Linked DNA regions of Homo sapiens: regions 2, 3, 4, 5, 6 and 7 are each linked to region 1. The links are contacts of gene promoters, found by promoter capture Hi-C in blood cells and fetal thymus (Javierre and others, 2016). All regions are on one chromosome and are shown on one strand. Each heading gives the region's core, a stretch centred on a gene start or on the middle of the fragment in contact. The rest is flanking DNA. Distances are from core to core; before and after follow the strand shown.

The links. Contacts are between HindIII fragments. The CHiCAGO score rates a contact against its expected background, and 5 or more counts as called.
Region 2: a contact is called between the fragment with the promoter of ACKR4 here and the fragment with the promoter of BFSP2 in region 1, in 7 of 17 cell types (total CD8 T cells, naive CD8 T cells, naive CD4 T cells and 4 more). The highest score is 9.8, in total CD8 T cells.
Region 3: a contact is called between a fragment that was not itself captured here and the fragment with the promoter of BFSP2 in region 1, in 1 of 17 cell types (megakaryocytes). The highest score is 5.3, in megakaryocytes.
Region 4: a contact is called between a fragment that was not itself captured here and the fragment with the promoter of BFSP2 in region 1, in 1 of 17 cell types (erythroblasts). The highest score is 5.2, in erythroblasts.
Region 5: a contact is called between a fragment that was not itself captured here and the fragment with the promoter of BFSP2 in region 1, in 1 of 17 cell types (fetal thymus). The highest score is 5.1, in fetal thymus.
Region 6: a contact is called between a fragment that was not itself captured here and the fragment with the promoter of BFSP2 in region 1, in 14 of 17 cell types (megakaryocytes, total CD4 T cells, M1 macrophages and 11 more). The highest score is 11.8, in megakaryocytes.
Region 7: a contact is called between a fragment that was not itself captured here and the fragment with the promoter of BFSP2 in region 1, in 7 of 17 cell types (megakaryocytes, naive CD4 T cells, naive CD8 T cells and 4 more). The highest score is 9.3, in megakaryocytes.

What each region holds. Positions count from the first base shown.
Region 1 is chr3:133,397,905-133,402,215 of GRCh38, reverse strand. BFSP2 (beaded filament structural protein 2) reads right to left here and starts at 2,160. Exons shown (of 7, transcript NM_003571.4): 1 at 1,644-2,160. The coding sequence starts at 2,132. The HindIII fragment of the contact is 8,153 bases long and covers 1-4,311 here.
Region 2 is chr3:132,595,551-132,599,861 of GRCh38, reverse strand. ACKR4 (atypical chemokine receptor 4) reads right to left here and starts at 2,592. Exons shown (of 2, transcript NM_016557.4): 1 at 2,539-2,592. The region is part of intron 13 of ACAD11 (acyl-CoA dehydrogenase family member 11); the gene reads left to right. All of the region lies in intron 39 of NPHP3-ACAD11 (NPHP3-ACAD11 readthrough (NMD candidate)), which reads left to right. The HindIII fragment of the contact is 3,278 bases long and covers 1,586-4,311 here.
Region 3 is chr3:132,672,381-132,676,691 of GRCh38, reverse strand. UBA5 (ubiquitin like modifier activating enzyme 5) reads right to left here. Exons shown (of 12, transcript NM_024818.6): 9 at 1,309-1,444; 10 at 1,012-1,087; 11 at 769-875; 12 at 1-249. The coding sequence ends at 166. All of the region lies in intron 26 of NPHP3-ACAD11 (NPHP3-ACAD11 readthrough (NMD candidate)), which reads left to right. Among named protein-coding and RNA genes, the nearest start is that of UBA5, 14 kb to the right of the region's middle. The HindIII fragment of the contact is 1,347 bases long and covers 2,388-3,734 here.
Region 4 is chr3:132,688,625-132,692,935 of GRCh38, reverse strand. NPHP3 (nephrocystin 3) reads left to right here. Exons shown (of 27, transcript NM_153240.5): 17 at 118-282; 18 at 1,650-1,744; 19 at 2,286-2,408; 20 at 3,673-3,862; 21 at 4,045-4,286. It overlaps NPHP3-ACAD11 (NPHP3-ACAD11 readthrough (NMD candidate)), which reads left to right. Exons shown (of 45, transcript NR_037804.1): 16 at 118-282; 17 at 1,650-1,744; 18 at 2,286-2,408; 19 at 3,673-3,862; 20 at 4,045-4,286. Among named protein-coding and RNA genes, the nearest start is that of UBA5, 30 kb to the right of the region's middle. The HindIII fragment of the contact is 212 bases long and covers 2,956-3,167 here.
Region 5 is chr3:132,706,044-132,710,354 of GRCh38, reverse strand. It overlaps NPHP3 (nephrocystin 3), which reads left to right. Exons shown (of 27, transcript NM_153240.5): 7 at 2,098-2,254. It overlaps NPHP3-ACAD11 (NPHP3-ACAD11 readthrough (NMD candidate)), which reads left to right. Exons shown (of 45, transcript NR_037804.1): 7 at 2,098-2,254. Among named protein-coding and RNA genes, the nearest start is that of NPHP3-AS1, 14 kb to the left of the region's middle. The HindIII fragment of the contact is 164 bases long and covers 1,962-2,125 here.
Region 6 is chr3:132,740,006-132,744,316 of GRCh38, reverse strand. The region is part of intron 3 of NPHP3-AS1 (NPHP3 antisense RNA 1); the gene reads right to left. Among named protein-coding and RNA genes, the nearest start is that of NPHP3-ACAD11, 20 kb to the right of the region's middle. The HindIII fragment of the contact is 6,523 bases long and covers 1-4,311 here.
Region 7 is chr3:132,758,615-132,762,925 of GRCh38, reverse strand. The region is part of intron 3 of NPHP3-AS1 (NPHP3 antisense RNA 1); the gene reads right to left. Among named protein-coding and RNA genes, the nearest start is that of NPHP3-ACAD11, 38 kb to the right of the region's middle. The HindIII fragment of the contact is 5,036 bases long and covers 1-4,311 here.

The sequences.
Region 1 (4,311 bases), core at 911-3,410:
CCATTGGGATACCTGATTTCTCCTGACAAGTCTGTGTGGCATCTGATTGCAAGCGATTGTCCAGCAGATGCTGACATATTGGAGTATCTAGGGATGTTCTGGTGGTTGTTATGGCACAATATTTGGAATAAGGACAGTTGTGAAGAATCCTGGAGGAATGGCTGCCTCTTAGATTTGACAGGCGTTAAGGCCCTGGACTGTTCTAAGATGGCTCTCCCTTGCAGCCCAGATGGATGCAAGCAGAACAGCAGCACCAGGGGGAGAGCCTGAGAGGATGGTGCTGTTCATCATGCACTCTGTGCTGTCAGTGGGCACTGACAGCAGTGCAGGAGAAGCATCCTGGGATGAAGTGGGAGGCAGGAGGGGCAAATGGGGAGTCCCTGTGTGCAACTGCTTAGCTTCCCCCAGCTATACACAAATAAAATTTTGTGACCTCCTCTTGGGAGGCTGCATACTGGACTCCAGGGGGCCAAGGGTCTGAGTTGGCAGTCCCTGGTGGGTTAGAGACTGATTTTGCTCAGAGGGATCCCAAGGCCAGCATCTGGAGAGAAAGAGGAGGAGGAGAGGTGAAGCCAGCTATCCACAGAGAGACCAGCTGAGAGGTGTAATGCTGGCTGGAGTCCCAGCATTAGAACTACAGGCTGCAGGCCAGACATGATGGATGTGCTCCAGACTCCGCAGAAATCACCCTGGAGAGTGGGAAAAGCAGGGCTGACCAAGCAAGGGAGAAAGATGAAACCTCTGCATCCTTCCCTGTCCAATAAGATAGCCATTAGCTACCTGTGGCTGTTTACATTTAAATTAATGAAAATTAGATAAAATAAAAATGCAATTCCTCAGTCTCATTAGCCACATTTCAAGTGCTTGATAGCCATATATGGCTAGTGGCTGCCAGATTGGACAGTGCAGATATAAGATATTAATATTTCCATCACGCAGAAAGCTCTACTTGAATGTAAATTACCTCATTAATATATTTTGTATTGATTACATGTTGAAATAACATTCTGGACATATAGAGTTAAATAAGCTATAATATTAACTTCACCTGCTTCTTTTTACGTGTTTTACTGTGGGTAATAGAAACTTGTCAATTACCAATGTAGTTCATATTTCTATTGAACAGCGTGGTTGTAGGTGGATACAGGAACACACCTCCATTTATTCATTGTTCTTAACACCTCATCCATCCAATGGTATTTGATTGGATAATAGCTGTAAAAATCCCTTCTCAACAGTAAAGGTGACTGAGGCAGCCCCAGGGTAATGGGGCAAATGCAACTTTGGAGGCACAAAAATTCAGGTTCAAATCTCATCTCCATCCCTCTACTAGCTTTGAAGTCTTGGGCAAATTACATGCCTCAGTTTCTCATCTGAAAAATGCAATCAGTGAATGATCCACTGCATAGCATTTCTTTGAAGTTTAAAGAAGACAGTGGGTAGTGCACGTATGGGGGCTAGCGTGGGCTCCTAGTAAACCTCGGTAAAAGGTAGCATTGTTGTTATCATTACCATTTTAAGTGTGAAAGTGTAGGGGATTATGGTCAGTTTCTCTGGCCTCAGCCTACTCACAACCCTACCCGCTGCCTTCAGCAGCCCCTCCCAGCCCTCTGCAAAGCCCTTGGCACAGCCTGGACACTTACCTGCTGGCAGCTGCTGGCCCAGGAAGCCCGTAGGGCACCCCAGTTTCCCGAGCGTGTGGCTTTGCTCTCCAGGTGCATCCGCAGTTGTGTTTCCAGCTCCTGACTGACTTGCTCAAGGGCGTGCACTTTGGCCATATATTCCACCAGGCAGCCCCCTAGGTCCTCAACAGCACCATGGTCCCTCTCCAAACCTGGAGCCGGCACGGTGGCCAGGCCTGAGCTCCGCAGGCCCTGAAGGAAGACACTGCTGATGCCGAGGGCCCGGCGGGTCACACGGGCACCCAAGCCACCTATGCACCCACTGGGTGCTGTTCCTACATAGACCCCGGGTGCTCGGACAAGGCCACTCATGGCATTGGTCCTGGAGGCTGGGGGGCTCTCCAGGGAGGATGATGACCGTGGCCCCCTGAAGGACGCCCTGCGCCTCTGGAGGGGCATGCTGGAGCTGGCACTGGTGGGCAAGTCCACTACCACTCGCCTCTCACTCATCACCCCTTCTGCCTCTGTGGTGCCCAGTGGGTTTACAGAGTCCAGTGGCTTTTGGTTTACAGCCCCAGCATCCCTGTGGCCTGGTCACGGGCCTCTCTGGAATCTCCCCTATCCCTGGGGCTGCTTTGTCTGCTGTCTTCCATGAGTTTCCATCATTCACTGAGCTGAAAGAGAAATGGGCACTGCCCAGGGCTGTGTGCAGAGAGGCACTCATGCATTCTTTGATGCAGGGTCATGTGCCCAACCTCCCAGATTATTCTGCTGGTGGTGGGGGAGGCTGGATCAGTGCAGGCTGTGGAGGTAGACCATTTGGGTTTGTGCATTTTACTACCTAAGTGGGCAAGGCAGGCATCAAGCAACCCCATTTTACAGATGAGTAAACTGAGGCTCAAGGACCTCAGATGACAAGTGTACTGATCACTTGCCCCAGACCTCAGATTACAAGCTAGGACTCAATCTAGCTATTTCAGGGCTTTCTACATCCCTATGTGTGCTGGCACATGTGAATGTGAACACATGTCCACACAGGCAATAGAGGATGAAAAATGGCAGGAGGCAGCTCCAGGGACCCAAGAGAAAAGACTTGCCTATGGTTTCCTCTCTCAGTCCTGGCAGCAGCTTCAGGTCCTTCCCTCACCTCTCTCCTTTCCTCCTCATCTCTGTCCTCTAATGCTCTGCTGTTCATCAGCTGCTTGCTGTTGGCCAGGATGCTTCCTCCCTCTGGACCTCACTGTCTGAACATTGGCTTGGGCCTTTAACTCTCTGATGCACCAGATAAGGACCTTGGGCAAATTCAGATCCCACACATGTTCCGGCCATTCCCTACACCTCTGCTTCTCCATCTGTTGGAAAACTGAGAAATAAAAACAACAACGAGGGTGTTTTCTGGTAAGCCTCTCCAAGGGTGCCCCAAGTTAGGATATGATGACACCCCTGGGTTTTAATTATTGACCTTGGCATCCACTAAGCCACCAAGGGTCACACCTCAATCACTTCTCTAGGATCAGAAAGGTTCCCCCAGTTACAGGATGACAACATGGACCTAAAAACCTCTGTACATAAGTTTTACCCTGGAGAAACCAGGTCACCAAACCCCAGAGCTGGATACTTTTCCAGATGCTGTAATGTAGGAATGTACCTCAGGTGAGAGAAGGAGAAGGGAGTCAATCTCTAGTGAGTAGCAGATCCAGCCTGGTGTGTGCATGAATCCTATGGTTTATTTCGTGGAATTCTCAACTCAACCTCAGGAGGAAGGAGGTCCAGGGTTGACAGGTACTGCCATATGGGCTGTGTACCTCACAGCTCTAAAATGACATGTCCTACAGTTGGCCACTGTCCTCTTATGTGAGGAGGACCCCGAGAGCTGCAATGACTTGCCCAAGGTTCTATGTCCAGAAAGTAGCAGAGCTGGGGGCAGACAACCTCTTCCAAACTCTGGGCCACTGACTTACTTAGGAGCCTCCCTGTTGCCCACCACCCAGAGAGCAGAGTACCTACCTGAGGTCACGCAGGTAGAGGTAAAAAACCTGGTCGCCTACTAGAGGACCCTGTGTGCACTTCCTTCCTACTGACCAGGACACTCCAACCCTTCCTTTCTTTATTGTCTTCCACTTTGTCTCTCTGAGATGGCCTGGGAGGTATTTTATAAATATCAGTGTTGGCTATTTGATGAACAGATGAAAGAACCAATTGGATTAAGTAAAGGCCAGTAGTGTCCTTGTTTATTCAGATGTAGCATTAATGCTGTGAACACCACCCCTGATGCACCCAGAAGGGGCATGCGAGCCTGTGTTACAGTAACAGCCTCCTATACGGATGACACTGACTTGGTTCTGAGGATCTGCATTATTGTGAATTCCAAGATGTATTGTCCAAGGCTGAATGAAAAGTTCAGGCTACTGATTAAGTTGTGCACAAATGTGTCATGTTTAGGCATTGTTATTCTCTACAGAATGGTAACACTCAATGGCCAGGTTAACTTCAGACTTCTCCGGACCAAAGATATTTACTATATAAATCCACTCAGCCCTGGAGACAGGGAGAAAGAGGGGGGGATGTACTTTGACACCACTGTCTCCAAAGACCTGATGAAAGATGAGTCTGTTTTGGAGAAACTGCAAACATGTTCAAAAAGATTTATTTTATCAAATGATAAACTGCTAATCCTATTAGCTCATCA
Region 2 (4,311 bases), core at 1,343-3,842, 800 kb after region 1:
TCTCAGCATTTGCACTAAATTTCACTAGTTGCCTTTTATAAAACAAGATCTCCTTTAGCCAACTTCCCTCCAAAACTGGTCACTACTTGCTTATTGTATACTGTTTTTTAGTAGCACCACTATCTTCTAATCATCTAAGCTGTAAGCCTGCTTCATTCTTGTCTTCTCTCTTACCTTCATCCCTGCTTCCCAATCAGTTCCCAAGTTCTGATTCTGCCTTCCAAGTAGGTCTTGAATCTGTCTTCTCCTCTTAATCTGCACTCTTCCACACATTTGCACAATTCAGCTATTATGTTTCTCACCTAGCCTACTGCAATATCTTTCTTTTTTAATATTTAATATTTAATTTTTTTTTTGAGATGGAGTCTCATTCTGTTGCCCAGGCTGGAATGCAGTGGACAATCTCGGCTCACTGCAACCTCCGCCTCCCGGGTTCATGCGATTCTCCTGCCTCAGCCTCCCAAGTAGCTGGGATTACAGGTACACACCACCATGCCTGGCTAATTTTTTCTATTTTTAGTAGAGATGGGGTTTCACTATGTTGGCCAGACTGTTCTCGCACTCCTGACCTCGTGATCCACCTGCCTCGGCCTCCCAAAGTGCTGGGATTACAGGCGTGAGCCACCGAGCCCAGCCTATTTTTAAATTTTAATCCATTTATTTATTTATTTATTGACCAGGTTATGAGTCTGTATAACTTTTTGTATTTTTGATAGAGACGGGGTTTTGCCAGGTTGCCAAGGCTGGTCTCAAACTCCTGGGCTCAAGCAATCTACCTGCCTTGGCCTCGCAAAGAGTTGGAGTAACAGGCATGAGCCACTGCACCTGGCCAAGCAGTATCTTTCTAACTGATAGCCTGTTGTTACTCCTCCTCAATACCTCCTTTTCAAAAACGTTTTTCTTACTTCCACCAGAGTATTTGATCTCTAAATTGCCAATCTACCTCTCCTCTGTTTTGTTCCTCATCTGGAAGACACATCTCTTCACCTGAAAGCCACAATCCAAGCTCCTTAGCATAACACCCAAGGCTCCCTTCATAATGTGGTGCCATCCATGGCTCCTGCCACCTCTCCCTACTCTGTGTCCACACTAGAGACAGTGATAGGACTAATTTCTCAGCAGTGGGCTGGCACCCACCATGCAGCAGCATCTGTCTACATCATTGCTCATTCTGTTCCTTTATCTACCATACAATTTCCTGCCCTTCCCTGGAAGGGCCAATTCCTACTCAATAAACGCGGATGCGACCTCCCCAGAAGACTTTCCTGATGTATTAGCAATCTCTACATACCCCTCAGAGAACTGATCCATTCTGTGGAAAGGATGCGTTTCCCATACTACCTTGTTCCTCTAGGTTTTAAGTTCCTCAAAGCATGACCTATTTGATTTGTGTTTGTAAATAAAATCTTGTTAATGTGCCTGGCACAAAGTAGCTTCTCAGTAAATATTTGTCAAATTAAAGCTTTTGCCAACAGGTATAAAGCTGTTACTCTAGAATGGATAGATAGTATGCCAGAAATCTTCTATGTCAACATTGTTATTGCACTATGTTGGCTACTAGCACCCCGTAGTATTAAGATAAGCTTGCACAGAATTCGTAAGTTTTGGAATGTATAAAATAATGACTTTCAGTGTTTTTATTATAGTGCTGAATTTTGTTTTCCTTTTTCTTATCCTTTCTATTTTCCTTGGGTTCTTTTTGTCCTCTGAAGTATCTCAAATATTCTTATAGAATCAATAATGAAAATATTATTTTTAAAACAGTGTGCCAACTTATAGTACATTTTCAAAAGAAATGTTCTTATGTTTGCTAACTTTTTTTGAATGAATATAGCAAAGAAAAGAAGGCTCTGAAGAAAGACACCACATAGAAGAATTGCTTTCATTATGTAAAAACCGGGTGCCAACTTTTTTAAATGACTCTTTTTATCATTAAAGTTACTTAAAAAGTTCCAATCTGGAAGACTACTCTGGTCTTCATGTTCTTATGCATTAATTATTAACACAGTATGAACCTTGTTCTTCCTTTCTCTTTCATCAGAAAATCTTGAACCTGATGATAAGAAATAATATGGCCAAATATTATAATATATTAAGGAAGGGAATTTTTAAGTAAGAATTAATCTTACTAAAAATGTGAGTAAAAAAGAGTAGAAATGGAATTATTTGCAGAAATGATCCTTCCGGCAGATATATAGACACGCTTTTAAGTGTCTTTATAATTACCATGAGAATAAAAAAAAAATCAGTACTTGTAAAAGAAAGTGAAAAAAAGTGGTATAATAAAACCTATTTTCTCCTTAACAAAGTTTTACCGACAAGTAATGGCATTTAAAATCGTATTTTCTTCTTGCTATATTAAGATTTTCATTTAAGGTTAAACTGTACAGCTATTTTCAAGTAACCCTTTTTTTTTTTTTTACAAGTAAGCATTTAAACTTTTATGCATCAAGACTCCATCTATATAAGTAAATATACAAGATCTTTGGGCTTAAAAAAATATTCAAGTCAGAATAAGAAAAGAAATAAAGTACCAACCTGTTGTAGTCGGCAGAGAGGAGCAGTCTTGAGTACAGAGTATAAAATCAAATGACCTAACTCCAGCTACTTTTGTTTTCACTTTACACCCCGCCTTTATCTTGTATCCAAGAAGGCTTTCCTGAAATTTAACCTTGTGAGCACTTGATATTTTATTTCCTGTAAAACCATCTGTGAAGTTAAATTCAACTTCTTAAGTGGTTTAGGTTACAAATTTGAGAAAATCCATCTTTTTTCAAAAACTATAGACCTTTCATAGTTTCCACTTAGTCAAAGGGGACAAGAAAGTGCCTGCAGCTGAGCTACTGACTGCTGAACCAGAAGGAGAATCCACCTGAGGGCATCTAGGCAGCACTTGTAGGTAGCATCTAGAGAAATACTCTCTAAAGTTATTTTGCCTAAGGAAGAAAGCAAATATGATTTTAACCAAGGAAAATATCTTTTTGAAGACTAAATTATCAAAGATTAAATTATAAGTAATCATTAGGTATTTGCAATAGAATTTAACATTTTTATGCCACATCATTTAATATTTATTTAAACTACTAGAGTCTTCCTGGCTTCACTGTACTTTCTCTATCCTTGTCCCAGAGTATTTTCCCATGGCTTTAAACTCTCTTGCTTTCTTGTTACCTTTTTTCCCAAAGCTAGAATATGAACCTTCAAAATCCTTCAGTCTGGGAGGCTGTTTATTTTTTCCACATTTCCACACAAGTAAGTTAGAGAAAGAAGAGAAATTTATGCTGATTTGGCCCTCATGGTCTATTTGAACTTGGCTTTCCTCAAATTTGCATGGCAGTTATCTATTTTTTCATGCAAGGCCAGGCTCAGTCTCCACCTGCAGAAATTATTTCAGACCCATGCCATTTTTTCTATTTTTCTCTTTTTTAAAAAAAAACTTTTAAGTTCAGGGGTACACATGCAAGTTTGTTACACAGGTAAACATGTATCATGGGGGTTTGTTGTGCAGATTATTTTATCACCCAGGTATTGAGCCTAGTACCCATTAGTTATTTTTCCTGATCCTCTTTCTCTACCACCCTCTACCCTTTGATAGGCCCCAGTGTGTTTCCCTCCATGTGTCCATGTGTTCTCATCTTAGCTCCCACTTATAAGTGAGAACATGCAGTATTTAGCTTTCTGTCCCTTTGTTAGTTTGCTAAGGATAATGGTCTCCAGCTCCATCCACGTGCCTGCAAAGAACATGATCTCATTCTTTTTTATGGCTACATAGTATTCCATGCTGTATATGTACCACATTTTCTTTGTCCAGTCTATCATTGATGGGCAAATATTTAGGTTGATTCCATGTCTTTGCTATTGTGCATAGTGCTGCAATGGACATATGCATGCATGTGTCTTTATAATAGAATAATTTATATTCCTTTGGGTATATACCCAGTAATGGAATTGTTGGCTCGAATGATATTTCTGTCTTTAGGTCTTTGAGGAATTGCCACACTGTTTTCTACACTCCCACCAACAGTTTGTAAGTGCTCCTTTTTCTTCACAACCTCACCAGCAGCTGTAATTTTTTGAGTTTTTAATAATAGCCATTTTGACTGGTGTGAGATGGTATCTCATTGTGATTTTGATTTGCATTTCTCTAATGATCAGTGATGTTTAGCTTTTTTTCATATGATTGTTGGCGGTATGTATGTCTTCTTTTGAGAACTGTCTGTTCACATCCTTTGCCCACTTTTTAATAGGGTTGTTTTTAATTGTAAATTTAAATTTCTTATAGATGCTGGATATTAGACCTTTGTCAGATGC
Region 3 (4,311 bases), core at 1,812-4,311, 730 kb after region 1:
GAGCGGGGAGAAACAGGCAAGTCACAGGATTTTCAAAAAGTATAACAATTCAGGTAAGAATATACATTAATTAATGTTGCCCTAAGTTTTATCAGTTAAAATTTTTTTTTAATTTCAAGGGAAGAGGCTTTAACATGAGAAATACAATATATCCCAGTCCATTATCTACATATTCTTCATTTTGGCCATGAGGTCTTCCAAGCTTTCACCAGAATCTTCCACTGTTAACTCAGTGACAGAATCTTCTTGCTATTGACAAATAAGGGAAATACAGTGAAAAAAGAACCATATAGAATTCTTGATGCTTAGGAATATATAATCAGCAAGTTTTGACCATGCTCAACAAGGTTATAAAGTAAATTTTCTTTAACAACTATCTTCTAATTTTTAGAAGAAAGACAGAGTCTTTTACATTCCTCACCAGTCTTTTGATTTACAAGGCAGTAATTTCAATATTCTTGACAGCTCTAGCTTTTTAAACGACATCGTAGCTAAAACTACCGATAAACAAAAATGAGATCTTCATTTAATCAAAATCTACTATACTTGGTTCATTAATGAGTGAACAAAACCATTTTATTCTATGTTTTAAAAGTTTAAGCTATAAATATTTGCATATTAACACTGCATACCTCTCTCTCACATCTTAATGCCTATAGCATAAAATATCTAAAACAGGAAATACTTCATTGGCATTACAAATTAGAATGAAGATGATAAATATTTTATATGATATTTACATATGGGTAAATCATATTTTTGAAGTACCTTTTTTGGAATTGTGTATGCCACTGTAATTCCTTCAGGTAAGTCTGGAACTGGACCTGAAAAATTTTTCAGTTCCTCTTCTGAAACCTCAGATACCAGCTCAATACCTGTAAATTTGATCCTATGTCAGTTTTTAAGGAATTTAATAAGCAATAATTATTCAATTTGTATAATCTTATTAGATTTGCTACCATAAAAGGTTTTGTTTTATACTGCCATTTCAATTTATAAAAGAATACCTACCCCATTCATTATCTTCATGGATTATCTCTTCCTCTTCTTGTATAACCTCTTGTTTAGGCAGTGCTGCTACCTTTTTCTGTAGAAATCAAACAGCATCAAAGTGTTCTTACTCATTCTCAGTTCTCTAAAGCATTAATCAAGAATTCAGACAGGCTTTTTATCTTACCAAAAGCAAGAAAGAACATTCATTTTTGAAGTATGGTGAATAAATTAACCATTTATCTTGTATTCCAAATCTGTTTATGTATTGTCCTATTCAATATGATCCCTCATGCATTCTAACAGATTGTCATATACCTTATATTCCTCCTGCTGCTTCCTGCAATTTCTGTCATCACACTGAGGATTTGGCTTCATGGACATAGTAGGAAAAAAATCCTGCATTGCATTGTATCCAAGGTAAAAACTAACAGTACCAAAATTTAACAGAAACCTAGAAAAATCAAAATAGACTTAAATAAAGAAATTTAAAACATGAAAAATACTAGAACACCTAAATTTTTTAAAAATAACGTTGAAATAGGTAATTATATATTTTTTTTAACCAGAAAACAGAAATCTGCATCCAGAAAACAGAAATTTTATCTTATTTACAGTGCCTGGCTCATAGTAGATACTTCAGTGTTTATTGAATGAAGGAAAGAAAAGATTACTCCATTTCATCAACTGTAGAACACACTATTTTTTTGAACCTCTAATAAAGATAAAATGCTGGCAGCTAAACAATTACACGTCAACAACTTCAAGAAGCATGCTGATTTCAGAGAAGCTAAAATGTGGGAGAAGTGTATTTTTTAAATCCCTGAGATAATTAAGAAAGCTACTTAATTTTAACATTTTGTATGTAACTTACTATAAAATGCACAATCTTAAATGTATAGCTCAATAAAATTTTGTATGAGCCTTTCATGTAACCATCACCAGATCAAGATACAGAACATTTTCAGCATCCCATGTGCCTCCAGCTCCCTCCTGCCCTCTTCCCAGTCAAATCTGATACTTTTTACTCTGTTGCCCAGGCTGGAGTAAGGTGGCGTGATCATGGCTCACTGTAGCCTCGCCCTCCCAGGCTCAAGCAATCCCATCTCAGCCTCCCAAGTAGCTGCGACTACAGGCAAGCACCACCACGCTTGGCTAATTTTTGTATTTTTTTTTTGTAAAGATGGGGCTTTGCCATGTTGCCCAAGCTGGTCTCAAATTCCTGGGCTCAAGCAATCCGCCTGCCTTGGCCTCCCAAATTGTTGGGATTACAGGCGTGAGCCACTGCACCCGGCCAATCTGATGTCTTTTATTAGGTTGGCGCAAAAGTAATTGCAGTTTTTGTTAAAAGTAATGGCAAAATCCACAATTACCTTTGCACTAACATAATAAAAGCTTCTATACAGAGAAAATCACATAAAAAAGATAAATGACAAAAATATTTGCAAATACACATTCTTAATATACAAGACAAAAAAGAGCAACAACTATTAGCAGATAATTCACAGAAGAATGTAAGTGTTCAACCTTTTTCACAAATAAAAAGAAAAATTAAATGCCTGTTTTTTACCCACCAGAATGACAGATTACAGAGTTTGATGATACTCAAAGTTATCAAAGGTATGGGTGAACCAGGTACTCCTAAACTATGATACAAATGTATAATCCTTTTGCAGGAGAAATTTAGTAAATATTTCGTAAATTCAGAAATTCTACTTTAAAAAATGTGTACTATAGGCCGTGTGCAGTGGCTCATGCCTGTAACTCCTAGCACTTTAGAAGGTCGATATGGGCAGACTGCTCGAGCCCAGGAGTTCAAGACCAGCCTGGAAAACAAGGAGACTTTGTTTCTACAAAAAATACAAAAACATTAGCTGGGCGTGGTGGTGGGTGCTTGTAGTCACAGCTACCTGGGAGGCTGAGGTAGGAGGATCACTTGAACCTGGAAGACTGCAGTTAGCCGAGATTGTGCCTTTGTGCCTCTGCACTCCAGCCTGGGTGACAGAGTGAAACCCTGTTTAAAAAAAAAAAAAAAAGTACTATAGAAAACTCTAGGCTGGGCACAGTGGCTCACGCCTGTAATCCCAACACTTTGGGAGGCTGAGGTGGGCAGATTACTTGAGCTCAGGAGTTCAAGAACAGCCTGAGCAACATGGTGAAACCTTGTCTCTACAAAAAATACAAAAATTAGCCAGGCATTGTGGCATACACTCGTACTTCCAACTACTTGGAAGGCTGAGGTGGGAGGATCACTTGAGCTCAGGAGGTTGAGGCTGCAGTGAGCCATGACTGAGCCACTGAACTTCAGCTTGGGCAACACAGTGAGACCTTGTCTCCAAAAAAACAAAAAGAAGAGTGATCAATCTAGTATTCAAAGATATATACAAGATGTAGCCTATAGCATTGTTAATAAAAAAGAAAAGAATTAAGTAGCCTAAATGACCATCAATAGAGGGGCTAGCTAAATAGGACACATCCTTAAGGGAATACTTTGTTAGCCATGATTCTTTTCTCCTTTTTTGTATCATACTATAAAATGTTTTGTTTAGACAGGGCCTACTACTGTCTAAACAGGCTATTTGCTCTTATATGAAATAGCCCTAGACCATTACTTTGAGAGTTTATATGTATGCTTTTTTCAATTTCTTTGCTCGCAACTGACACTTCTTATTGATTGGTACCTCCTTGTGTCTTGTTGCAGTTTGTTCTTATTATATTGGAGGCTTAGGGAATACAACTAAGCTTATTAAAGTTGTAAAATGAGGGAAAATAAATAGCCTGAATTAGAGAACACCTAAAGGGGCTCTGCTTTTAATAAAGTATGAGTTGATTCATAAACTGTGACATAAATTTCAGCAGCAAAGAAATCTTTTTCCTTCTTTTTAGCTACAGTTTAGATAGTACAGTTGCTGGATATTTGTTTTTGGATAGCAGAGGTATCTAAAAGCAGATTTCAAGAATCTTTTTTAAGTACTGTTAATGTGTTTTATATTAACACTAATATAAATGTTAACATTTTATGTAAATGTAAAATTTACAGTAACACTAATGTTTAATTACATTAACAATAATTACTGTTTAGTCACATTGGTTTATTTTTGGTAAGACTTAAATCAAGATAGTAGAAACAAGTGTGTTTAAGTCTCCATCCACTGGACAGACTTGCAAAGATTTAAATCATTCAGTTAATGTTTCATAAATAAATATGCCACTACCATTGTATCATTTAATAAAAGCTATTCCAAATGCAGGGAGTAACTGACATTCACATATATTCACGTATGAATATGCACACATGTATTATATGTAATATTTAATATA
Region 4 (4,311 bases), core at 1,812-4,311, 710 kb after region 1:
TTGAATTATAAGTTTTGGTAAAAAGAAATAGCCTTAAAAGAATTATGGAACTTTTAATGGCCGTTAGTTACTTATACAGGTGCTTTATGATTACTGTTAATTTGTTTTTCTACCTAGATCCTCTGCCTTGTCAATGTTAGTCACAATGGTGTGAGTGAATCAGAACTGATGGAACTCTATCCTGAGATGTCCTGGACTTTCTTGACCTCCCTTATTCACAGTTTATACAAAATGTGTTTGTTGACTTATGGATGTGGCTTGCTTAGGTTTCAACATCTGCAGGTAATGTTATTTTAGGCATCTTTTTATTTATTTATTTAAGAAACAGGGTCTTCTCTGTCACCCAGGCTGGAGTGCAGTGGCAAGATTATTTCTGCCAAAGGAATAAATTCTAAAGATCTGCTATACAACATTGTCCCTATAGTTAACAATACTGTAGTACACTTAAAAATTTATTAAGAGGGTAGATCTCACGTTAAGTGGTCTTACCACAATACAATTTTTAAAATTAAAAAATAAGTCAGACACAAAAGATCAAAAAAAGTTTCTTAAAGGTAGTTTATTTCTTGAAGAGAAAAAAAGTCTTTTTCAATTATGTTTCATTGAATTGCGGTATTATTATACAGTCATGCATTGCTTAACAATGGGGATATGTTCTGAGAAACACATCATTAGGTGATTGTATCATTGTGTGAGCATTGTAGAGCGTACTTACACAAATCTAGATGGTACAGCCTACCACACATGGAGGCTATATGGTATGGCCTATTGCTCCCAGGCTACAAACCTGCACAGCATATTACTGTACTGAATACTGTGTGTAACTGTAAGTATTTGTGTATCTAAATACAGAAAAGTTACAGTAAAAATGTGGTATGAAAGTTTTAAAACGGTATGCCTGTATAGGGCAGCTTCATTATAATTTTATAGGATCATCATCATGTATGCAGTTTGTTGTTGACCAAAACATTGTTATGTGCACATGACTGTATATGTATTAAGAGTTTGGACTCTGTAAGCCAGTCAGCCTCCTTTTCATGGATTAATGCCTATCTAAACTTGGGCAAGATCTAAGCCCCAGGCGGACTTTGGCAGTTTATGAAAGGGGTTGTGAAGCAAATTAATTGAGGTCGTTCTTGGTCCTTGTGAGGTACTAGAAAGATGTTTAGCACATAGAAGTAAATCTTTAGGAAGTTTTGGCTAAAATAATTCCTATCATCTGCAATGCCATGGTTGATTTATATATATATACAATTGTAAATGAAGTCTTACATTTGAGTATGCTGTATCATATTTGTAGATGTGAAATGTTTGCAATTTCACAGCCTTTTTCCTTTCTTTATTGTGTATTGTTTGAATATAATTTATTCTTTTTAGTAACTTTTCATTCCACACTTCTGAGATTTTTAATGTATTAACTAAAGTTTGAATTAAATTGTGTTTTGAGCTTATAAATATTAGTACAGAAATTTTTATTCTAGTAACAGTTTATCAAATAAATATGTCCTAAATTTAAAAACATTTAAGTGACATTTCTATTATACAGCTATAAAATAGGAATAATTATAAATTCTTTTTTGCAAATCTCTTGTTAGATGTACAGTGACTTACGTGAAATAGAACTCAGTATTTCTTCTTTTTCTCCCTAGGCTTGGGAAACAGTGAGATTGGAGTACCTGGAAGGCCCCACTGTTACTTCTTCATACAGGCAAAAGCTAATCAACTATTTCACCTTGCAGCTAAGGTATTGTAAATGTTCCTGTTGTTCTTCTGTAACTTCTGCAACACACTACCTTTGTGTCCTTATTTCTGTTTCTTAGCTTACAACTTAAAGTACAAAAACTTAATTATTACAAAAAAGATTAAATCCTCTCCCTATTCTGTTAATGTCAAAAGAGCAAAAGATGATTTTGTCTTTTAATATTATGCTAAAAGTTTAAACAAGGAAAATCAATGTAGGATCATTTTATTATTTTTATTTTATTCCAATAGTTTGTGTCCATGTATCTGTATGTGTATATACGGGTCCATTGAGTGTTTTTTTAAATAGTTCAATTTTAGGAAAATACTTTTAGAGTTTGGTTGATGGTTCTGCATATCACTGAATTTATTTTCTTAGATTGGTAAAGTCTCTGATTTTGACCTAACTTTTTTAGTATTAAATTATACTTAAAGAATCAGAGATATATGTTAAATATTTTTCTTCCTTTGACATTTGCCTGAAGCCTTTTTGAAGCAGTCTCATTGTAGGAAGATATTGAATATTGTCTCCTCTCTTTTGATAGTCAGGACAGAGTGACTTGGAGAAGTGCAGATGAACTCCCGTGGCTTTTTCAGCAGCAGGGAAGTAAACAGAAGCTGCATGATTGCCTTCTTAATCTCTTTGTGTCTCAAAACCTTTATAAAAGGTAAGAAACATTATAGAACATCTTTCCCCAGAAAGAGAGATTTAAAGTTGTTCAGTTTAACAAAGAAAAAATGGTATTTTTAATTTAAAAATTAGTCTAAGTATCTGAAATACAAATAGTGTAGGAGAAATCTTGAGACAATTTACAAATCTCTATTAGATCTGCTTTTCCCAAGAGGAAAACATAGAGTACTGCTGCTTTATGAAATCAGAGCTGGAATGATTTCGGTTCAACTTTTTATCTTATGCTTACATTTAAGCATGTCTAAATTTAAACCACTCAGAGAGGTGGTTCGTAATGTCTGCTTCTTTGGGCCTTCAGATATCTGAAAGCGTAGCCTTCAAACCAGACTCGGGTCCAAGTAGAATCTGTCTGGTGTTGAATTTATTTGTTTTTGTTTGTTTGTTTACTTTCTATGTCTGGTGTTGAATTTAAAGAAAGAATTACCCTAATTCAAAAATGTATTCTGTTTGTCTCTTTTGATATGTTATAGTTTGTCAGTGGCAGAACTACCTTTTTATGAGGCAACTGTCTAACCTACTAAGCTTCATGAGGGTTTTTTTCTGCCTTACTTAGAGATTTAGACATTTCTTATACAATAAGTATCATAATTTATTTTGCTCCTACATAAACTCTCTCAAATTTGTTGCATCTCTTATTTCTGATCTCCATTCCAATTTTTCATGATTCCTTTGAAATCAGATATTTTTTAGTTTACCAGCCCCATACTACTTAAGATCGCCTACAGATGAATAAGCTTACTTTTGTCATTCAATTTCTTGATGAAAATACAAAGTAGATACTCTGTGACAGTTTATTTTTTATTAGTTTCTTCTCTTTGAATTTCCATACTTAAAATAATTTTGGGAGTGAACTCAGTGGTTGGCTCCATATTGTGAAATGTGTAAAAAGGATTCAGATAGATTCCCATTGGTAAGTAGCCATGATGGTATTAAGGATAACAGCCAACACCGTGGAGTACTTACTGTGTGCCATAATCCCCCTACAGTACCAGCTGAGGCAGGTAGTGTCTCCATTTCTGCAGATGAAGGTGATGAGGTCTAAGAGGTCAGATAACCTGCTCAAGATTACATAGCTAGGATAGTGGTGGAATTCAGATAGTGAGTGGTCTGAGTCTTACCTCATTACACAGTACTCGCCTACTAATAAATTGTCAATAACTTGATATTAATTCTGGAGTTTTGATTCTGTAATGGATTTTAAAGTGTGTTTTTCATTAAAGTACTGTTATTTGTTGAAACAGGGGACACTTTGCTGAGTTGCTGAGTTATTGGCAGTTTGTTGGCAAAGACAAAAGTGCAATGGCAACAGAATACTTCGATTCATTGAAGCAGTATGAGAAAAACTGCGAAGGCGAGGACAACATGAGTTGCTTAGCTGATCTTTATGAAACCTTGGGGCGATTTCTCAAGGATCTAGGCCTTCTCAGTCAGGTAAGCTCAGCAGATCAATGGCAAGCCAGAGACAGGTGGGATTTTTGTGTTCACTCTTCTCTTTTTCCAAGATGTTAATGTGGTTTTCATTTGTTGTGCTATAATCCTTAATATTTAATCAGATGACAGATCTTGCAGCATTTCACTCACTTTAACTGGCCTTTCACCCCTTTTCCCCCCAGGCCATAGTACCTTTGCAGAGGTCTTTAGAGATTCGAGAAACAGCTTTAGATCCCGATCACCCAAGAGTAGCCCAGTCCCTCCACCAACTAGCAAGTGTATACGTGCAGTGGAAGAAGTTTGGCAATGCAGAACAACTGTATAAACAGGCGTTGGAAATCTCAGAAAATGCTTATGGTGCGGACCATCCATATACTGCTCGTGAACTTGAAGCACTTGCAACTTTGTACCAGAAACAAAATAAGTAAGATTTTTTAGATCAGTAATAC
Region 5 (4,311 bases), core at 794-3,293, 690 kb after region 1:
TTTTTTTTACCAGATCACCTATAGAGTTTCGTTATAGAATTTAGGCAAGTGGAAGCCCTTGTTTGTTCTATACTTGAACTTTCTTCATTATGCCTCAGCTTTACTGTTTTAACTCCTCCAGCCCCACAAAGCTACATCTTCTCTTGCAGCTCCTCCCCTACATTTTTGTCTGCTCAGGCTACTTTCTGAAGGGATCCTAAAGTGCAACTTATCAACATATTAGCTGGCCTGTTATACTATCTAACTTCAGCAATTATCACCTCATGACTCGTTGTTTCATCTGTAGCATCTGCTTCCGTTCCACCAGATTATTTGAATAAAATACCAGAGATCATACCATTTTATCTGAGCCCCATGGGTCAGTTTTGTAGGGAATGCCTTGAAATATGGACGTGTGCCTGAACAGCAAGCCCATTGTTTGGTCTTCTAATGGGCCACAGACTTTTCCCACAAAGCACTGACAGATGAATCATTGAAATTCCAAAATTCGATAGAACATGGCCAGAGTGATTTTAATATAGAAAACTTCTGTGGTTTGGGTAGAATGGATTGGCGCAGAAATATACAACAGAATGTTTCTTAATTTTTAATATTTTGGGCTAGTAGTCTAATTTGCAGATTCTGAATCATACAATATCGCCCTTCTACACATACACACACACACACCCCCCACAAAAACATTTGTTTCCCTAGACAACTTTCATTTAATGCTTTCTAGAAAGGGGAATTGGTCGCAGTGTCCTTTGTTGTGTAGAAAACCCCAGTAGATGTGGGCTGCACTCAGTGGCTCATGCCTATAATCCCAGCACTTTGGGAGGCCAAGGTGAGAGGATCACTTGAGCCCAGGAATTCAAGACTTGCCTGGGCAACATGGTGAAACCCCATCTCTACAAAAAATACAAAAATTAGCTGGGTGTGGTGGCGTGTGCCTGTGGGCCTAGCTACTCGGTAGGCTGAGGTGGGAGGATCGCTTGAGCCCAGGAGGTTAAAGCTGCGGTGAGCTGTGATTGCACCACTGCACACCAGGCTGGGTGACAGAGTGAGACCCTGTCTCAAAAAAAAAAAAAAAAAAAAAAAAAAAAGGGAGAGAAAGAAAGAAGGGAGGGAGAGAGAAGACCTCAGCAGATTATTAGTTCTAGGACTTTTTTTTCTAGAATTTTCATTAAAAATATAATTTTGGTTCCCTATAACAAAGTTGTTTTTTGGGATTTTTTTTACCTTCACCTCAGTCACCCAACCTCTTCCAATCTGTCTCCAGATCTTTCCTGTAGTATATATTGGGTATAAGGATTAGGGTCATTTATTAGATGAGAAAAGTCTGAAAGAACTGGGAAAGAGAAAACTCTCAAAACTTTGGGGCTGCCATCCAAACAGAGAAGCACCTCTCCTTCTACATAGGTTCAAGAATTCTTAGTGAGCCTGGTCTGCCCAAGAAGGGTGCTGACATAATGAAGGAGGGCCAATCAAGAGCAAAGAATTCCTCATTTTGAAACCTTTATCTGGAATAAAGGCCTCTCCTGGACATGCCATATTTTAGCTCCTATGTTTCATTGTAAGAGATTTCTCCTGTGATTCAGCCATGAAGGGAGGCGGGTCAAATTAAAGGCATTAAAAAGAACTCCTGGAAAAGCAGTGCAGGAGCCTGGCTGTTGCCCTGGATGGTGCCTGTGTACCTACCCACGCATGACCTCCTGCCTACTTGTGTTAACATGGAAATTATACATTTTTAAATGGAATTTTGTTTGCCATCTATTTTCAAAGTCTCATGAGTCTAGTCCATTATTTTGAGCCAAGTTTAAGAGTATTTTTGAGATCTTTTTTAGGTTTAAAAAATAAAGTTTTATGTGCTTTACAATTTAATGCATAATTTATTATATTTATGCTCACTGTTGGCTAATGAATGTATTATATTTTAAGACCAAACTGGAAGAGAGCCATAACACATCCATTTTTGGAAAGCTTCACTTGTTGTGCAGTTGGACCTTTTCTGGCCACTTGTCACTGTAGTAAAACTCCATTATTGGCACTTAGGTTGATTAACTAACTGCTTGCTGCCACAATGCAGTATAGCACACAAAATGCTGATTTCCAATCTAGCCTTTTATTGGAAGACTGTGAAGAAGCTTTTCTGAAAAACCCTGAAGGAAAACCTCGATTAATCTTTCATCGTTTGGAAGATGGAAAAGTCAGTTCTGACTCTGTCCAGCAATTGATTGATCAAGTTTCTAATCTAAACAAGACCAGCAAAGCCAAGGTAAAATTCATAGGCATTTTTGAAAAACACACTTAGCTGAGGGAAAAACTGGAGCAAAGGCCATGAGGTGGGCATAAGCCTGGCATATCTGGGGAGGGGAGAGAAACCAGTGTGGCTGGAACAGATAAGTGAGGGGAGTAGGAGGAGAGGGGGCCTCATTGATTGTGAAGAACCTCGGAGGCCATTTTGAGGATATTAGCTTTTCACTTGGAGTGAGATTGGGAGCCACTGCAGGACTATAAGCAACAGAATGAGGGCTGGCGTGATCATCTGACAGTGATCTTTCTGGCTGCCATGTTGAGAATAGGTGGTCATTCAGGGGTAGTGTGCAGAGTCTGAGAGCCATTGCCATCATACAGGTGAGAGATGCTGGTGACTCCAAGCAGGGTGGTGGTAGAGGAAATGATGAGAAGTGGTAGGATTCTGAGTAAATTTTGACAGTAGAGCCAATAGGATTTCTTAACAGATTGGTTGTGGGTTGTGAGAAAAGAGAGAGAAATAAATCGCAGTGTGTGGCTAGCAAGAGTATGATCTGTATGATCAGATGGTATTTTGTGCTTTTCTCCCAAGCACAGAGTTCTTCTGTCTACTGACCAAGGATTAGTGTCAGGAGGAGACTTTTTTTTTTAAGAGACAGAGTCTCACTCTGTCACCCAGGCTGGAGTGTGGTAGCTTGTTCATATCTCACTGAAGCCTCAAACTCCTGGACTCAGAGATCGAGCAGTCCTCCCACCTCAGTGTCTTGAGTAGCTGGGACTACAGGCACAGGCCACCATGCCTGGCTACTTTGTTAAAATTTTTATAGAGATGGGGACTTATTATGTTGTCCACGCTGCAGGAGGAGACTTTTTATAGTGACTTTTCCTAAGAGCATTGGGGAAAGCAAAAAGCTGATGATGGGATGAGAGAAATTTGATCATTCCTAGATGCATGTTGGGATAATTTTTAGAATACATATTACAGGCTTTTTATTACTGTACACGGAGGCAACTTGGTAAATGTCTGTAGTTAATGTGAATAATACAATTGAAAACAACTCTAGGATTTTTACAGAGTTTTCACTTCCCTGTGCCCAGCCAAGAAATAAAATCAAATATGAATACAAGCATTTTTCTTTCCATCATTTAGTATTGAAAAGATAGCTTGAGAGCAGCATGACACATAAAACTAAAGAGACTAAGACAAAAAGGAAGTGCATTTTTATTATAATTTCCAGAGCCATTTCATTCTTTGTTTTAATTATTGTAGTATCAGCCTAGTCCACTACGTCCCACAAAAAAGATATTAATTTATCTTTTTTATTCTATTTATTCTATAACCTTTACTTTAAAAAATTTAGTATGCTGGAAGGATGAGTTTATTTTATAAAATAGGAGTGAAATAAGATCTCTCTGCCATGATTATAAATGTAAATGTAGGGTAAATCTCCATGCTTGTTCACTTGGTATGTATTGTAAAATCATTGCCTTATTCTAATTGTATCAAATATTAGTAGTAGTAGTAGACATGTTCTTACAGATTGGGCATTCTTCTTTCAGCCAGCTCAGTGAGACTACATAGTATACTATTTTGCTTTTGTCTTTTATAGAATTATAGCTTTATTGACATAAAATTGGATTTTGATGCATTTTGAAGGGTAAATATGTTGAGTGGTATGGAAATACATAAGAGAAAATTTGGAGACAGAGCAAAAAAAAAATGTATACTTCTTGGTTTTTTTTTTGTTTTTTGTTTTTTTTTTTGAGACAGAGTCTTACTCTGTCTTCCAGGCTGGAGTGCAGTAGAGCGATCTCAGCTCACTCCAAGCTCCGCCTCCCGGGTTCACGCCATTCTCTTGCCTCAACCTCCTGAGTAGCTGGCACTACAGGCACCGGCCACCACGCCCGGCTAATTTTTTGTATTTTTAGTAGAGATGGGGTTTCACCATGTTAGCCAGGATGGTCTTGATCTCCTGACTTCGTGAACCGCCCACCTCGACCTCCCAAAGTGCTGGGATTACAGGCATGAGCCACCGCGCCTGGCCTACTTCTTGTTTTATTGCTCCATTTTTCACACTA
Region 6 (4,311 bases), core at 918-3,417, 660 kb after region 1:
GCTGTGTGTAGAGGGAAATTTATAGCACTAAATGCCCACAAGAGAAAGTGTAGGAAAGATCTAAAATTGACACCCTAACATCACAATTAAAAGAACTAGAGAAGCAAGAGCAAACAAATTCAAAAGCTAGCAGAAGACAAGAAATAACTAAGATCAGAGCAGAACTGAGGGAGATAGAGACACAAAAAACCCTTCAAAAAAATCAATACATCCAGGAGCTGGTTTTTTGAAAAGATCAACAAAATTGATAGACCACTAGCAAGACTAATAAAGAAGAAAAGAGAGAAGAATCAAATAGATGCAATAAAAAATGATAAAGGGGATATCACCACCGATCCCACAGAAATACAAACTACCATCAGAGAATACTACAAACACCTCTACGCAAATAAACTAGAAAATCTAGAAGAAATGGATAAATTCCTGGACACATACACCCTCTCAAGACTAAACCAGGAAGAAGTTGAATCTCTGAATAGACCAATAACAGGCTCTGAAGTTGAGGCAATAATTAATAGCTTACCAACCAAAAGAAGTCCAGGACCAGACGGATTCAGAGCCAAATTCTACCAGAGGTACAAAGAGGAGCTGGTACCATTCCTTCTGAAACTATTCCAAACAATAGAAAAAGAGGGAATCCTCCCTAACTCATTTTATGAGGACAGCATCATCCTGATACCAAAGCCTGGTAGAGACACAACAAAAAAAGAGAATTTTAGACCAATATCCCTGATGAACATAGATATGAAAATCCTCAATAAAATACTGGCAAACTGAATCCAGCAGCACATCAAAAAACTTATCCACCATGATCAAGTGAAGTGGGCTTCATCCCTGGGATGCAAGGCTGGTTGAATATATACAAATCAATCAACATAATCCATCACATAAACAGTACCAATGACGAAAACCACATGATTATCTCAATAGATGCAGAAAAAGCCTTCGACAAAATTCAACACCCCTTCATGCTAAAAACTCTCAATAAACTAGGTATTGATGGAACGTATCTCAAAATAATAAGAGCTATTTATGACAAACCCACAGCCAATATCATACTGAATGGGCAAAAACTGGAAGCATTCCCTTTGAAAACTGGCACAAGACAAGGATGCCATCTCTCACCACTCCAATTCAATAAAGTGTTGGAAGTTCTGGCCAGGGCAATTAGGCAAGAGACAAAAATAAAGGGTATTCAATTAGGAAAAGAGGAAGTCAAATCGTCCCTGTTTGCAGATGACATGATTGTATATTTAGAAAACCCCATCGTCTCAGCCCAAAATCTCCTTAAGCTGATAAGCAACTTCAGCAAAGTCTCAGGATACAAAATCAATGTGCAAAAAACACAAGCATTCTTATACCCCAATAACAGACAGCGAGCCAACTCATGAGTGAACTCCCATTCACAATTGCTACAAACAGAATAAAATACCTAGGAATCCAACTTACAAGGGATGTGAAGGACCTCTTCAAGGAGAACTACAAACCACTGCTCAACGAAATAAAAGAGGACACAAACAAATGGAAGAACATTCTATGCTCATGGACAGGAAGAAACAACGTCATGAAAATGGCCACACTGCCCAAGGTAATTTATAGATTCAATGCCATCCCCATCAAGCTACCAATGACTTTCTTCACAGAATTGGAGAAAACTACTTTGAAGTTCATATGGAACCAAAAAAGAGCCCACATTGCCAAGACAATCCTAAGCGAAAAGAACAAAGCTGGAGGCATCATGCTACCTGACTTCAAACTATACTTTAAGGCTACAGTAACCAAAGCAGCATGGTACTGGTGCCAAAACAGAGATATAGACCAATGGAACAGAACAGAGGCCTCAGAAATAACACCACACATCTACAACCATCTGATCTTTGACAAACCTGACAAAAACAAGAAATGGGGAAAGGATTCCCTCTTTAATAAATGGTGCTGGGAAAACTGGCTAGCCATATGTAGAAAGCTGAAACTGGATCCCTTCCTTACACCTTACACAAAAATTAATTCAAGATGGATTAAAGACTTAAATGTTAGACCTAAAACCATAAAAACCCTAGAAGAAAACCTAGGCAATGCCATTCAGGACATAGGCATGGGCAAGGACTTCATGACTAAAACACCAAAAGCAATGGCAACAAAAGCCAAAATTGACAAATGGGATCTAATTAAACTAAAGAGCTTCTGCATGGCAAAAGAAACTCCCATCGGAGTGAACAGGCAACTTACAGAATGGGAGAAAATTTTTGCAATCTACCCATCTGACAAAGGGCTAATATCCAGAATCTACAAAGAACTTAAACAAACGTACAAGAAAAAAACAAACAACCCCATCGAAAAGTTGGCAAAGGAAATGAACAGACACCTCTCAAAAGAAGACATTTATGCAGCCAACAGACACAAGAAAAAATGCTCATCATCACTGGTCATCAGAGAAATGCAAATCAAAACCACAAGAGATATCATCTCACACCAGTCAGAATGGCAATCATTAAAAAGTCAGGAAACAACAGATGCTGGAGAGGATGTGGAGAAATAGGAACATTTTTACACTGTTGGTGGGAGTGTAAACTAGTTCAACCACTGTGGAAGACAGTGTGGCAATTCCTCAAGGTTCTAGAACTAGAAATACCATTTGACCCAGTGATCCCATTACTGGGTATATACCCAAAGGATTATAAATCATGCTACTATAAAGACACATGCACACATAAGTTTATTGTGGCACTATTCACAATAGGAAGGACTTGGAACCAACCCAAATGTCCATCAATGATAGACTCGATTAAGAAATTGTGGCACATATACACCATGGAATACTATGCAGCCATAAAAAAGGATGAGTTCATGTCCTTTGCAGGGATGTGAATGAAGCTGGAAACCATCATTCTCAGCAAACTATGACAAGGACAGAAAATCAAACACAGCATGTTCTCACTCATAGGTGGGAACTGAACAATGAGAACACTTGGACACAGGGCGGGGAACATCACACACCCAGGCCTGTCTGTGGGTGGGGGGCTGGAGGAGGGATAGCATTAGGAGAAATATCTAATGTAAATGATGAGTTGATGGGTGCAACAGACCAACATGGCACATGTATACCTATGTAACAAACCTGCACGTTGTGCACATGTACCCTAGAACTTAAAGTATAATTAAAAAAAAAAAAAGAAACAGAAACAGAAAAAGAAAATGGCCCCAAATGGAAGCAGAGGAAAGCAGCACGGAATGAAGAGCAGCAGAAACGGTGAAAGGACATCAATATGAACAAATGCTCACTATATAAAAACAGTTATGTTTGATAAAACTTAAAATAGAGAAAGAAGATACTTGACAACAAAAGCATAAAAATTGAAAATGGGGTAAATGAAGTTTCAGTTTTTAAATTCTTGCATTATCCATGAAATACTAAAAGTTCTAAATAATGATAAACTGAATAACCAAGGATATATGTGGAAATGTTTAGAATAACTACTAGAAGATTAATACATAAATATGTAACAAGCTAATATGGACAAATGAAATAACATTTAAAAATACTTGATTAATCCAAATAAAGGCAAGATATATATATGTATACTATTATGTAAAGGTAATATACATAATAAACATATATATTTACACATACATATATTTATTATCTATATATTTATACACAAAGTATATATTCATATGCAATATATATTTATATTTCTTTTAATATAAAATATATATTTATATGCTATATATATATATTCCTTTTAAATGGAAGTAAAACTTCAGCATCTGTTGGATATAGGCCTTTGGTTTGTTTTGAAAAAAAATGAGGAAAAAATTAAAACTTAAGTCACAAGAATTTATAATAAATATTGTCAATATATATGTGGCCTATGTAACTATTATATTTAAATCCACAAAGTTGCAGAAGAAAAATTACCCAGGATAGAAACTTTGTAGTAGAGCTCAATAATATATGGAAATTATTTCTAAGGAAAGAAACATAATTTCAAAAACACAGCTAGTTCTGGGGAAGCCAATTTACTTTAAGAAGCTGAAACATTCAGGATAATTTAATGCAGAGGGAGAATGACAAAAATCACCTTTTTTAGGTGATGATGGGAAGTGCGAAGTTTTATTTCTTCAGGTGAAGAAGGCTGTTATTTACTCAAAGGATGTTTGTTCCTAACCCAGGGAAATAGTATTTGATAGATGTGGTTTTATCTTCTGAGACTTCACTGTAGCAATGTTCTGTGAAACCATACTAGAATTAAGAATTTTTATACCTTTGGTAACTGACTCTCCCGATGTAGAGTTGAAAGGGGATGTTTT
Region 7 (4,311 bases), core at 1,183-3,682, 640 kb after region 1:
ACAGAGCCAAAGACAAAAACCACATGATTATCTCAATAGATGCAGAAAAAGCCTTTGACAAAATGCAACAACCCTTCATGCTAAAAACTCTTAATAAATTAGGTTTTGATGGGATGTATTTCAAAATAATAAGAGCTATCTATGACAAACCCACAGCCAATATCATACTGAATGGGCAAAAACTGGAAGCATTCCCTTTGAAAACTGGCACAAGACAGGGATGCCCTCTCTCACCACTCCTATTCAACATAGTGTTGGATGTTCTGGCCAGGGCAATTAGGCAGGAGAAGGAAATAAAGGGTATTCAATTAGGAAAAGAGGAAGTCAAATTGTCCCTGTTTGCAGACGTCATGATTGTTTATCTAGAAAACCCCCTCGTCTCAGCCCAAAATCTCCTTAAGCTGATAAGCAACTTCAGCAAAGTCTCAGGATACAAAATCAATGTACATTCTTATACACCAGCAACAGACAAACAGAGAGCCAAATCATGAGTGAACTCCCATTCACAATTGCTTCAAAGAGAATAAAATATCTAGGAATCCAACTTACAAGGGATGTGAAGGACCTCTTCAAGGAGAACTATAAACCACTGCTCAAGGAAATAAAAGAGGATACAAACAAATGGAAGAACATTCCATGATCATGGGTAGGAAGAATCAATATCGTGAAAATGGCCATACTGCCCAAGGTAATTTACAGATTCAATGCCATCCCCATCAAGCTACCAATGACTTTCTTCACAGAATTGGAAAAAACTACTTTAAAGTTCATATGGAACCAAAAAAGAGCCCGCATCGCCAAGTCAATCCTAAGCCAAAAGAACAAAGCTGGAGGCATCACACTACCTGACTTCAAACTATACTACAAGGCTACAGTAACCAAAACAGCATGGTACTGGTACCAAAACACAGATATAGATCAATGGAACAGAACAGAGCCCTCAGAGATAACGCCGCATATCTACAACTATCTGATCTTTGACAAACCTGACAAAAACAAGCAATGGGGAAAGGATTCCCTATTTAATAAATGGTGCTGGGAAAACTGGCTAGCCATATGTAGAAAGCTGAAACTGGATCCGTTCCTTACACCTTATACAAAAATCAATTCAAGATGGATTAAAGACTTAAACGTTAGACCTAAAACCATAAAAACCCTAGAAGAAAACCTAGGCATTACCATTCAGGACATGGGCATGGGCAAGGACTTCATGTCTAAAACACCAAAAGCAATGGCAACAAAAGACAAAATTGACAAATGGGATCTAATTAAACTAAAGAGCTTCTGCACAGCAAAAGAAACTACCATCAGAGTGAACAGGCAACCTACAAAATGGGAGAAAATTTTCACAATCTACTCATCTGACAAAGGGCTAATATCCAGAATCTACGATGAAGTCAAACAAATTTACAAGAAAAAACAAACAACCCCATCAAAAAGTGGGCGAAGGACATGAACAGACACTTCTCAAAAGAAGACATTTATGCAGCCAAAAAACACATGAAGAAATGCTCATCATCACTGGCCATCAGAGAAATGCAAATCAAAACCACAATGAGATACCATCTCACACCAGTTAGAATGGCAATCATTAAAAGGTCAGGAAACAACAGGTGCTGGAGAGGATGTGGAGAAATAGGAACACTTTTACACTGTTGATGGGACTGTAAACTAGTTCAACCATTGTGGAAGTCAGTGTGGCGATTCCTCAGGGATCTAGAACTAGAAATACCATTTGACCCAGCCATCCCATTACTGGGTATATACCCAAAGGACTATAAATCATGCTGCTATAAAGACACATGCACACGTATGTTTATTGCGGCATTATTCACAATAGCAAAGACTTGGAACCAACCCAAATGTCCAACAATGATAGACTGGATTAAGAAATTGTGGCACACATACACCATGGAATACTATGCAGCCATAAAAAATGATGAGTTCATGTCCTTTGTAGGGACATGGATGAAATTGGAAAACATCATTCTCAGTAAACTATCGCAAGAACAAAAAACCAAGCACCGCATATTCTCACTCATAGGTGGGAATTGAACAATGAGATCACATGGACACAGGAAGGGGAATATCACACTCTGGGGACCGTTGTGGGGTGGGGGGAGGGGGGAGGGATAGCATTGGGAGATATACCTAATGCTAGATGACGAGTTAGTGGGTGCAGTGCACTAGCATGCCACATGTATACATATGTAACTAACCTGCACAATGTGCACATGTACCCTAAAACTTAAAGTATAATAAAAAAAAAGATGGAAAAAAAAAGAAAAAAAAAACTGTATGATGTATAGTATGTTACTCAGTGATAACATATTTTGCAAGTAGAACCAACAGATTTTACTTCTAGACCCAATGTTGAGTGTAAGAGAGAAGTAGGCAGTGTAAAGAGATGTCAAGAACACCAATGTTTCTGGCCTGAGTGACTGGAAGCGTGGCATTGCCGTGACCTAGGAGCAGGAAGGTTGCAGGAGCTGCTGGATGAAGGAGAACATCAGGAACTCATTTCTAGATATGTTACATTTTAGATGCCTATTAGTCATACAGAAGAAGGTGTCAAGTAGGCAGTTAGATATACAAGTTCAGGGAAGAGGTCCAGATTGGAGATATACATTCGGAAACCATCAATGAATAAACAATATTCGGACCCATAAGACTGGATGAGATTAGCCAAGGAGTGATTATAAAGAAAGAAGATTAAAACAGCTCTACTCAAAGGGTTGTTGTTTGTGGTAAGGTGTATGGGGGGGTGGTTTAGGTTAGATTACTGAGAGCTTTATTTATTGAGGGCAAATAGGTGCTAAGAGCCGTATATCCCTTAACTGATTCAATTTTCTAGGAAGTAAGTGATATTATTTTCTTCATATTTAAAAGTTTTTATATTTGCCCAAAGTCATAGAATTAGTAGAGATCACACAGGGATTTGAAACCACAACCCATGTTCTTAACCCATATACTTTATCTTATATATAAAATATAATTTTTATACATTATCTAATATATAAAAAACCTAATGCCAGTTGATCATTCTGACACATGATAAGCATTTGATTAAATGACCCTCCAATACTCTTATGAACTTGTGCCTTGAACAATAATTTGTTTGACAATGGCTTTGGGATCCTCACTTTCAAACATGCATGTTAATAATAATGACTCTTCTACCCAACCAAGGGCCAAATGAGGTAATATCTAAAGAAGTGGATCATAGATGATTCCATAGTTGTTAGAGAGCATTCTTGCTATCAATTCAAGATGAGTCTGGGTTTTGTGAATATGAGAGAATCCAATCAAATGGATTCTGCTCATGAAATACACACTCCAGTTGCACAGAAGTGTTGCATTTTAGAATAATGTTCCTTCTGTGAGATGTTTGACCTTGACTAGGCACTAATATTTCAACAACTGGCTGCTCATAAACTGGAATACAAACTGAAGTACTTGACTGAAGAAATAAAAATCGAGTATTTCCACAATGGCAAGGATTTTTTTTTAATCAGGATTTTGAATTTTTTTAATCACTTTCGCTATTGAAATATTATAATATTCAATTATCTTTTTAAATTTGTAAACCACTGTAAAAGCATTTTAGTTGTTTTCCCATTTCTTGATTTTAATGTTAGAAAATATTTCTGTACATAATACACACTCCCAGGATATTTGGGAATTTGACCCTATATCCCAAATGCCCAGCCTGTGTTTTTTAAGGAACAGGTAGACAACATATGGAATTTGAAGTTGGAAGACCATTGTTAAGTTCTGACACCTAAGTTTTTCAAAAGTTTATCCTAAAGCATGCTTTTTCTTCTCTTCCTACTATAGTACCTTCCTGCAGATATGGCAGGATGAGAGACTCAGACAGAAGACCTCTTTGGTCTTGGGTTACTTTACTGACCATCAATCAACAGAGTTATATCAGGAGCTTTCCACTCCAAACAGTACAAAATACAAAACACAGAATTATAACCAACTAAACATCCACTGCCCCCTAAGCACATGCTTATCTCTGAACCCCATACACTGAGATAAAAAATAAACAAAAGTTGTAGTCCTTGCTCCCTAGCAGCCACAATCTATGTCCAAAACCACGCATAGATAAAAAATAATTTTAAACAATTATAAACAACATTTAAACAAAAATAAACAACATAAGAATGACCGTGATTTAGTGTGTGATAAAAACTCAAAATGAGGAAAAATAATTATAGAATCATCAGGGAGGAGATCATGGAGGTTGACTGTAGGTAGCTGCATCCATTTGCAGTGTTTCATTTCCTACTAAAGGTTTTATCAGTT